Linked DNA regions of Homo sapiens: region 2 is linked to region 1. The links are contacts of gene promoters, found by promoter capture Hi-C in blood cells and fetal thymus (Javierre and others, 2016). All regions are on one chromosome and are shown on one strand. The core of a region is centred on a gene start or on the middle of the fragment in contact, and the rest is flanking DNA. Distances in the headings are between cores, read along the strand shown. Region 1 holds the start of POLA1 (DNA polymerase alpha 1, catalytic subunit). Region 2 overlaps PRDX4 (peroxiredoxin 4).

Region 1 (6,360 bases), core at 2,455-4,954:
AACTATAGCCTAAAGGTAAGGCATAATTAGAGATCTTATTTTTTTCTAGCTTTCTAGAAATGGAATCTCTCTTTATAATATCACACTCTATTGTTTGACTTTCACATTTGACTTTTAAATCCATTTTCAGAAAGACATTAAGTAAAAATTAAGGAATAAAGGTACTTAATGATGACAGCCACAAAAACTTGGATGTCACTCAAATGATTTCAAAAATCGTGAACAGGCCTACATGAAAAGGCTTTGAAGATTACTGAACATGACCCCTGAAAGTGAAAAGCGATTCCCCTCAAGACTCCCTTGATGCCTGACATCTGTAGGTCTTCAAATGCACTTACTCCATAGGCAACAATGTTCCACTACACAGGCAACAATGTTCCACTACACAGGCAACGTCCCACTACACAGGCAACAATGTTCCACTACACAGGGTTTAGGGTACAATCACAAATAAGACAGAGCTGCCTGTCCAAAAGAGGCCCCCAGTCAAGTAAAGCAAAGTACCTGAAATTACCATCACAATATAAACATGGTGCCATAGAAAAGGTAAGAACTCAGTACTGAGGAAATGTACAGAGGAGAGAGCTGTTAATTTTGCCTGGAAAATCAAGGAAGGCTTCACAGGAGAGGTTTCCAATACAGGCCTAGAAAAAGGAGTCAAATTTCACAGAGAACAAAGTAAAAAGTGGCACAAGCAAAAGAAGAGGCATGAGCCAAATTACAAAGGGATGAAAATGCATAGTGTATTCAGAAACTGAGAGAACTCAGTGTGCAAGGTAAATTCGACAAGGGAGTGTAGAGTGAGTAGGAGAACCAGGTTAGGGAGAAGCAGCACATTCCAGCTCTGCCATTTACTGGGTGACATGAGAACACCGGTTAACCAGTTAAGCAGCAGACAGGTGTCTTGTTATTTAAAGCAGCCTAGCATCTGAAACTGTTTGTGAAATCCGGCCCCCATCCCTTATAAGTCTTGATGAGACGCAGAGCCTATGCCCCATTACAGAAGCTGAAAAGGTTGATGCTCTTTCCCAGACACCCTTGCAGCCTAGAGCATGGGCATATAAAATAGGCGCTACCGATTAGGAACACCTGCTCAGACATTAAATCAGAAGCTAGTGTCACAAGGAAGGGGGCATGGGTTTTAAAAGATTCTACAAGTAGCAACAGCTGCAGAAGGATTACAAAACCGGCAACAATGTCAGCAATGTCCTAAGGTATGAGCTATAGCATCAAGTACTTGCTCGTGGTTGGCAATGACCTCCTCACTGGCCCATTTTTGTGGCACAATTTCACTCACTGTTCCTGGCTAAACAGCTCCCAGACTGGCTTACTAGTCCTCCTGGAGTTTCTGTGAACACAATATTCTTCTAACAAATTCTAACCAATCTGGTAGAGTTGGTTCCTGCAGCTTACAGATAGGGGCTCTGACTGATGCAGAGCCTCAGGGTCCACATCTGTGAAATGGGGATAATCATGTCTGCTTCAAAATCTGTTAAGGATTACATGAAGATGCCTATCTTACTTTGCACTTAGCAATATAGGAGCGGCTCATGTAACGCTTCCGCGTGTGAAGTCAAACACACATCCACATACCCCACACACACCATACCTAAGAGTACCAAGGTCTAGCTTTAGAAGGCAAAAACAAAGCAAAGCCGTTTTCTGCATATGATTAGATGTTTACCATCTGTACTTCATGAAGACAAACCATGTCCAGCCTACCCACCATCATAATGCCAGAGCCTGGCAGAAGGCTTATACCTAGTAGGTATATAATAAATATTTGCTGAATGAACCAATGAATGAACCACTGTACCTGCTTTTTTGATCATTAAACTTTCCCTGGCCGGGCGCAGTGGCTCATGCCTGTAATCTCATCACTTTGGGAGGAAGAGACAGGTGGATCACCTGACATCAGGAGTTCAAGACCAGCCTGGCCAACATGGTGAAACCCTGTCTCTACTGAAAATACAAAAAATTAGCCGGTGTGGTGGTGGGCACCTGTAATCCCAGCAACTCGGGAGGCTGAGGCAGAACTGCTTGAACCCAGGAGGCAGAGGTTGCAGCCAGCTGAGATCACGTCACTGCACTCCAGTCTGGGCAACAAGAGGGAAGCTTTGTCTCAAAAATAAATAAATAAATAAAAATTCCCTGATCTTTTTTCATATATAGTAACAGCTAGTTACAGACCTTTCAACTTTTCACTGCCATTATCAAGGTGCCCTGCCTGCTAATACTGAAGAAAAAAAAAAGCCTACATTTTGTTTTTTGGAGTATGTCTCCAATGCTTCACGTAGGTAACTTAGCAAAAAAAGAATAAGCATGAAAAAAATCCAGCTACAAAGGTTTAAATATTTGTTTCAAAATTACCATCTGGAGTATCTCTATCCTCCCCAAAAGCAGACAGACACTAGCTTACAGCAGTCTTTCAGGTAACAATCCTTCAGTCTGCTCTAAAGGAAAAATTCCAGTCACAAGTCCCCAGCAACTACTTAATGAACACCATGACCTAAGAGGAGTCTCAAGATTGCACAGTATCCTCCAAAGTGATTTCCTGATGTTCATAGATGACGTAGTTTTTAGGATGAAGAAAGGGCTTAGTGGCAAATCACTGATAGAGGCCTGCAAAGACTGTTCGTTCACATACTTACACCCAACATCCTATCTGTAATCCAGGCAGGTCGACTCTCCAAAATAGTCTTAAAAAACGAACGGCTAGAACAAATTGAAATCTGTGACTCACAACTAGGTGAATGCAAAGGAAGCTGATTAGGAAGCGAGTTCTCATTAATGGTGATGTATCTGAATGACAGGAGAGGTGACGCTTGAGCTAACAAAGTGAAGCATCTGATTTTAAGTTAGAAGTTAACTGAAGTCACGCTTTAGTTGAACACTTAAAAAATCAGACAAATCTATTTGCATTTTTGTATTCTATTTTTGGAAATAAAAGACACCCCTGACAAACGGAGTGATATACAGGGGATCCGAAATGCCCTAAATTGATGCCATTTTTTTGAAACTTCACCAGGAATGACTAGATTGTGAACAGGATTTCTACGCAGCACTTGAAGAACTTTCCAAAGAATCTGAAAGAAAAATTGTTAATGCATAAAGTAGAAACCCATTACCTAAAAATACAAAACGCGTTATTCCCCGATGACAGCACTTAGAGCTTTCTTTCCTGCTTAGTTACAATGTATAAAATTTTCCTGGAAGTTCCTACAAAAAGGGACACAGATCTGTTCTGTTCAAGCCTTCAAGTGGATACTTAGGGAGATCGCAGTGAAATACTTTCGGCCCCACGGGGCCAGTCTCAATAAAGTTATACCCAGCACGTGGGTGCAACTCACCAAAAGAAATAGAAACGCAATCGACTGTGGAGACTCTCAGTGGCAGAGGTGAGACAGCCTCCCAAACAAAAATCCCTCCAGGCTCTGGTCCTCCAAGAGCAAACCGCGCCTAAAGGAAGCCCGGTCCGACGCCAGAAGGGCCCCCGCCGGGGACGACCAAGGTCTGCGCCCAAACAAACCCGGGTGTGCGCCTCCCTCAGAACCCCCACCACCGGCAATCATGCCACTGTCCCAACCCGGAGCCCCGCGCGCGGAATTGTCCCTCACCACTCGCCCCTATCTCACAGTCGTCGCCGTGCACAGGTGCCATGGTCCCGAATCTCCCGATTCCGCGCCAACCAGCCCAAAACTGGCGCGGGGGCCGAGACAGGCGCCAGCCTGAAAGCCAATCAGCGGCTCGGGAGGCTGCGGACTTCCGGCCGGAAGGCCACTGACGTGCCGCGCCGCGCCGCGCTCCGCCCCCGGCCTTCCCGCGGACGCGCGTTTGGCGCCCTGTGATGACCCCTTAGGGAAAAGCTAGAGCTGAGGGGAAGCCGGAGGAGAGCAGGAGAAAGAAGCGGTCGGGCGCTGGAAAGGAGCCGCCTGGAGACTGCGCAAGCGCACGCATGCTGATGGGAAAAGATTTGGGCGCGTGGGAGAAAGGGCGCTCTGGTTCTCAGAGCCCATTTTCCCGGAAAGGAGGCGCGGGCGGGCAGGAGAGTGGGCGTGGTTGGATCGTTTTCCCCAGAGCCGGGAAAGCGACTGCCTCCTGCTGCGCGCCCTGAATTTTGCCTGATAGTTTGCTTCTCAGCAGTCTGGATACAGTGGCTGTGTGATTAACAACTTAAAGATATATGCTCCGTCTTAACCAAATAACCAGAAGTAGCATTACCAATAAATGGCCATCTGATCTCATATGCCTCCTGATGTAATGCGTATGAAAAAGGAAAAACTTCGCCTATATGGTCTTCTTGCAAAAAATGTCTAACCTGAATCTAACCATGAAGAAACAATCAGATGTATTCAAAATGTAGGACAATCTACAAAACACCTGACGTGAACTCCAAAATTTCAATGTTATGAAAAACAAAAAGGGTATTCAATTTTTGTGTATGATACAATGGCTGTAATGTGTACATCTCATGTTATCTCTTTCCAAAAAGGTATAACATTTTTATTAAATAATGCCTGCCACACATTTGTATTTTTTCCTACATTATTGCCCACATGCTTATTGATCCCTTCTTCATGTGACAACAATTTTGTAATATTTTCTCCAAAGAGGATATAAAGATAATTCAATCTGTCTTCTAGCATGGTTGATCAATACTTGTTTCTTAATTTCTGATTGTTTAGAAAATGTCTTTCAGCTTCATAATCATTTAATATCATGTTATGTGATCCATATGTTGTGATACATAACATGTAGTAATTTACACTTAGACATAACTTCCTATTTAAAGTACTACGACAGATTTATTCCTACACTTCCCTTTTAAAAACTGATGGAAGTTTTATAGTTTTATTATCAAGCTTTTTCCAACCAGGAGAGAACCATGTTGGCTAGTCATTAATAAGAACCAAATCCTTACCTTAACAATTTCACAGCTGATTACTTCCCACATGCCCGGGTATAACTCTAGGCATTTCAAACCTCTTTTCTCTTTCACTACTGCTGTGGTCTGAATGTTTCTCTCCACATAAAATGTATGCGTTGAAACCTAATCACCAGTGTGGTGGTGTTAGGAGGTAGGGCCTCTGGGAGGTGATTAGGTCATCAGCAGGAACCCTCCCTCATGAATAGGATTAGTGCCCTCGGAAAAGAGGCTCCAGAGAGCTGCCTTGCCCCTTCTTCCATGTGAGAACAGAGCAATAAGGCACCATCTATGGACCAAAAAGTGGGCCTACCCCAAACACTGAATCTGCCGGCACCTTGATCTTGGAATTCCCAGCCTACAGCACTGTGAAAAATAAATTCCTGTTGTTTATTAGCCACCCAGTTTGTGGTATTTTGTTATAGCAGCCTGAACAGACTGAGACAATGACCCACATACTTTGTGGGAAAAGACCTGTAGGACACTTTCTCTTTTTGAGATGGAGTCTCGCTCTGTCATCCAGGCTGGAATGCAGTGGCACCATCTCGGCTCACTGCAACCTCCACCTCCCAGGTTCAAGCGACTCTACTGCCTCAGCCTCCCGAGTAGCTGGGATTACAGGCGCCCGCCACCACACCTGGCTAATTTTTGTATTTTTAGTAGAGATGGGGTTTCACCATGTTGTCCAGGCTGGTCTTGAACTCCTGACCTCAGGTGATCCACTCATCTCAGCCTCCCAAAGTGCTGGGATTACAGGTGTGAGCCACCATGCCAGGCCAGACACTTTCATACCATGATATGTCTTCTGGCCCTACACTTTCAGTTCAAAACTCCTGGTAAGTCATCACACTGGGGTAGAAATATTCCTGGAAGCTATTCCTACACCAAGAAGTCTATGAATAACAGCCCGGCGCTGTGGCTCACGCCAGTAATCCCAGCACTTTGGCAGGCCGAAGCTGACAGATCATGAGGTCAGGAGTTCAAGACCAACCTGACCAATATGATGAAACCCCATCTCTACCAAAAATACAAAAATTAGCCGGGTGTGGTGACAGGCGCCTGTAGTCCCAGCTACTTGGGAGGCTGAGGCAGAAGAATAGCTTGAACCCGGGAGGCAGAGGTTGCAGTGAGCCGAGATTGTGCCAGTGCACTCCAGCCTGGGTGACAGAGTGAGACTCTGTCTCAAAAAAAAAAAAAAGTCTATCAATAACTTAAGTATATATGGCTTAAGTATATATGTGGGTTAAGTGCCTTCGACCCACATAAATAGAAGAAATAAGCCCAAACTAAATGCAATATCAACTCCATTTCCCCATAGTGGAATCCCAAAATGCCTATGCCTATTTCACTGCTACTATGCAAGAAGCGAAGTGTATCAGAGGGACAGTTGGAGGTTCTCAAGAGCTGATTGTTAAATATTCCAGTATTTTGTAATC
Region 2 (3,411 bases), core at 1-2,500, 1.0 Mb after region 1:
AAGTGGGTAGAAGAAGAAAACCAAGTATTTCCCACGATAATCAGTTAACTTCAGCTCCTTAAATTCTCCATCGATCACAGCTGTTCCTTCCCAGTAGGGCGCTGGCTTGGAAACTAAGAAAATAAAATACATGATGTTCTGTAACACTGAGAAAGTTGGTGGAATGGTAGAAGGACATCTTTAGAAAATCACTAAAAATCAGGGCTACCTTTAGATCTCTTTGGCAGTCTGGTGAAGCTTACAGACTTCTTAAAAGAGTGTTATTGAATGCAAAAAGGAAAATACATAGAATTACAAAAGAAACCAATTGTATTTAAATGCAATTATAAAAATATTAAAAAAAATTGGTGATATCATAATACATGTGCTCTATAACACTTCAAAACTGCAAGATCTAGTTGTAATCTGACAACTACGTAAGATAATGATGAGTGAAAATGGTGTTTCAGGATACCTGCGATAACCATATGTAGCAAGAAAATAAGTGATTCTATTGGTGAAAGGTACAAGCAAGTGCTGCTGAAGATAGTGTAGTTTGTTGCTGACATTCATAATAGAAGGAAACACTAAATTTCAGATGGGGATTAGTGAAAATAAATACTTTTTTCCCCTATTCATGCTCACAGACCCCTTAAATTCTACCCTGCACTAAACCCTCCTGGATACTTCACTATAGTCCCGCTTCAAGTTGTCAACTTCCTACATTTCAAATAATTAGATTTTCCTTTCTCTAATGGCAGTCTTCCAGATGTACTAGTTTGTCCAGCTTCTGACATACACATGGAGGACCTGCTGCAGATGAGGCTACACAAAATGAGGAGGGAATGTACAAATATGTCAGGCCAGAAGTGTAAAATCCCAGACCATGGGATCATTTTCCTAGAGGGCTTTGAAAGAAGACTCCCTTGAACAGGTTTCAAGTGACCCAATGGAAACTGAACAGTTCATGCTGCTCTCTTGTAAGGGCGTACAGTAATTTTAGCCAACACACTTAGATACTAATGCACCTTCATGCTCTGTTAACACATTCAGATAGCACTTATACTTTCAGACCCCTTACAAACACTGAAGTCAATGCTTGCTTCTAAGTTTGGCTAAGGGTCCTAGAAAGTAAGGCTTATACTTCTCTGTAACAGCCACCATTTATGGTCACTCCAAAATAGAGACAAACAACATGAATTTCTCTTAAAAATTAATATATAACATATGATTACTTATCTTGAGCCAGCATCCTACCTCATATATATAATCCTGATCTGATTAGGTAAAGGCCAGGAGGGAGAAATAGACAGCAGAAGAGTATTCAATTATATATACTTTAAATAAATTACTTAAAATGCTACTCAAGTGAGAGGTTATAATAATTGTAATGATCTATTACAATGACACGCCTTAATGATTTTAGCATACTGGGAAAACCATATTTGAAAAATAAATTTTGTTCTGAAAATTGATTTTGGAAATATTTGGTTAAGAATGGTAGTTACTTTGCTAAGATCTATAAATGGAATTCCCAAAGCAATCCCTTGCATTTATTAAAAAAACAAAAATTGTCTTGAATATAAATTATGTAATTAACATAAAGATTCTGGTAAATGCAGAGAAGTACAAAGAATACTTAAATCCTCTCTCTCCATAACTCCCATCAACTACTGTTAACATTCTGATGTCTGTCTTTCTAGTCTTATTTTTTTTAATTTTAGTTATTTACTTTTTTTTTTTTTGAGACAAGAGTCTCAGTCTGTCGCCCAGGCTGGAGTGCAGTGGTGTGATCTGGGCTCACTGCAACTTCCGCCTCCCGGGTTCAAGGGATTCTCTTGCCTCAGCCTGCCCAGTAGCTGGGATTACAGGTATGCGCCATCACACCCGGCTAATTTTTGTATTTTTAGTAGACACAGGGTTTCACCATGCTGGCCAGTCTGGTCTCGAACTCCCGACCTCAGGTGATCGGATGGCCTCGGCCTCCCAAAGTGCTGAAATTATAGACGTGAGCCACCACACCTGGCCTTTCCGTTCTTTTTTAAACACAAATTTGCCACGTGTTGCATCCCGCCTTTTTTTTCTCCTTAAAGGAAACAGTAAATTAATTATGAACAGTTTTTGATATTACTAAAAATTATTTGAAAATATGGCCTTAATGGCTCCATAATAGTCTTTACTAACAAAAGTCTTTGTATCTTTAATTATAGATAAGCCTACATGTGACAGAGAAATGTAGTAAACAACTAAAATGTTAAGTTTTGCTGGTAAAGGGAAAGCTTTGAAGTAGATTTGTTTCCTATGGAAAATATATGTAATGTAAGTAAACACTTAACTGGCTGACATATTTAAAATACTTTCCCAGGCAAGTAAAACCAGTGGGACTTGGAAATACTGATTTTAAAATTTAAGACTGGTTTTGTTAAAAATCTCAAAGTAGGCTGGGCACCGTGGCTCACGCCTGTAATCTCAGCACTTTGGGAGGCCAAGGCAGGCGGATCATGAGGTCAGGAGTTCCAGACCAGCCTGGCCAATATAGTGAAACCCCGTCTCTACTAAAAATACAAAAAATAGCCGGGTGTGGTGGTGCGCGCCTGTAGTCCCAGCTACCTGGGAGGCTGAGGCAGAAGAATCGCTTGAACCCGGGCGGCGGAGGTTGCAGTGAGCCGAGATCGCGCGACCGCACTCCAGCCTGGGTGCCTGGGTGACAGAGCAAGACTTCATCTCAAATAAAAAAAAAAAAAAAGTCCCAAAGTGGTTAACTGAAAGTACTTACTTTCAGCAAGTAAGAACTGTAAATGTTTAAGAGGACAAAACAGTTTTTCTCATTTATCACTCCCAACCAACCCATCCTAAGTCATAACAACATTCCATTTAACTCTAGGGATTCAGAATTTGAAGCATTACTTTTTTCACTGAATACTGGCATGGAACATGCTGTAACTGAACCATAAAAACCAACTACACACCTACAGAATGTCAAATGATCTGCAGGAAAAGCAGGTTACTGAATAGCAAGCAAGAGACAGCCTTTATCTATAGCCACTGTTCACTTTTGGTTAATTTTAACATCCAGATGTAGCAGGCTACAACTTTCACAGTATCTACTTCGTCTGACGTGTCATTCCTGAAAGTGGCCATTAGCTTTGTACACTGGACAGAAATGCAAATAATCAAAAACCAAATTGGCAGGACACAAATTTGCCACGAGGTTTATCATCAACCCAAATGCATACTTCTAACCTTTTCCCCCATTTCCCTCAAAAGTACACTCTGTAATAGGTTCTTCATGTCTGAGAAACATAAGGAATATCCATTAACTACACAGGCTTTGGGGAAGGTGGCTTTCAGTAATAATCTTTGTAAGATGCAAACAAAAAGGAAGAAAGAAAAATGAAATGTTTGACCTCCCGAGCACTGTGTTTAGCAACT

What was found. Contacts are between HindIII fragments. The CHiCAGO score rates a contact against its expected background, and 5 or more counts as called.
Region 2: a fragment that was not itself captured here is called in contact with the fragment with the promoter of POLA1 in region 1 in 1 of 17 cell types (fetal thymus); the score reaches 5.7 in fetal thymus.

What each region holds. Positions count from the first base shown.
Region 1 is chrX:24,691,262-24,697,621 of GRCh38, reverse strand. It overlaps POLA1 (DNA polymerase alpha 1, catalytic subunit), which reads right to left and starts at 3,704. Exons shown (of 37, transcript NM_001330360.2): 1 at 3,618-3,704. The coding sequence starts at 3,660. RefSeq lists enhancers at 3,443-3,532, 5,235-5,735 and a silencer at 3,723-3,882. The HindIII fragment of the contact is 2,747 bases long and covers 2,118-4,864 here.
Region 2 is chrX:23,668,231-23,671,641 of GRCh38, reverse strand. It overlaps PRDX4 (peroxiredoxin 4), which reads right to left. Exons shown (of 7, transcript NM_006406.2): 2 at 1-113. Among named protein-coding and RNA genes, the nearest start is that of PRDX4, 2.4 kb to the right of the region's middle. The HindIII fragment of the contact is 2,021 bases long and covers 240-2,260 here.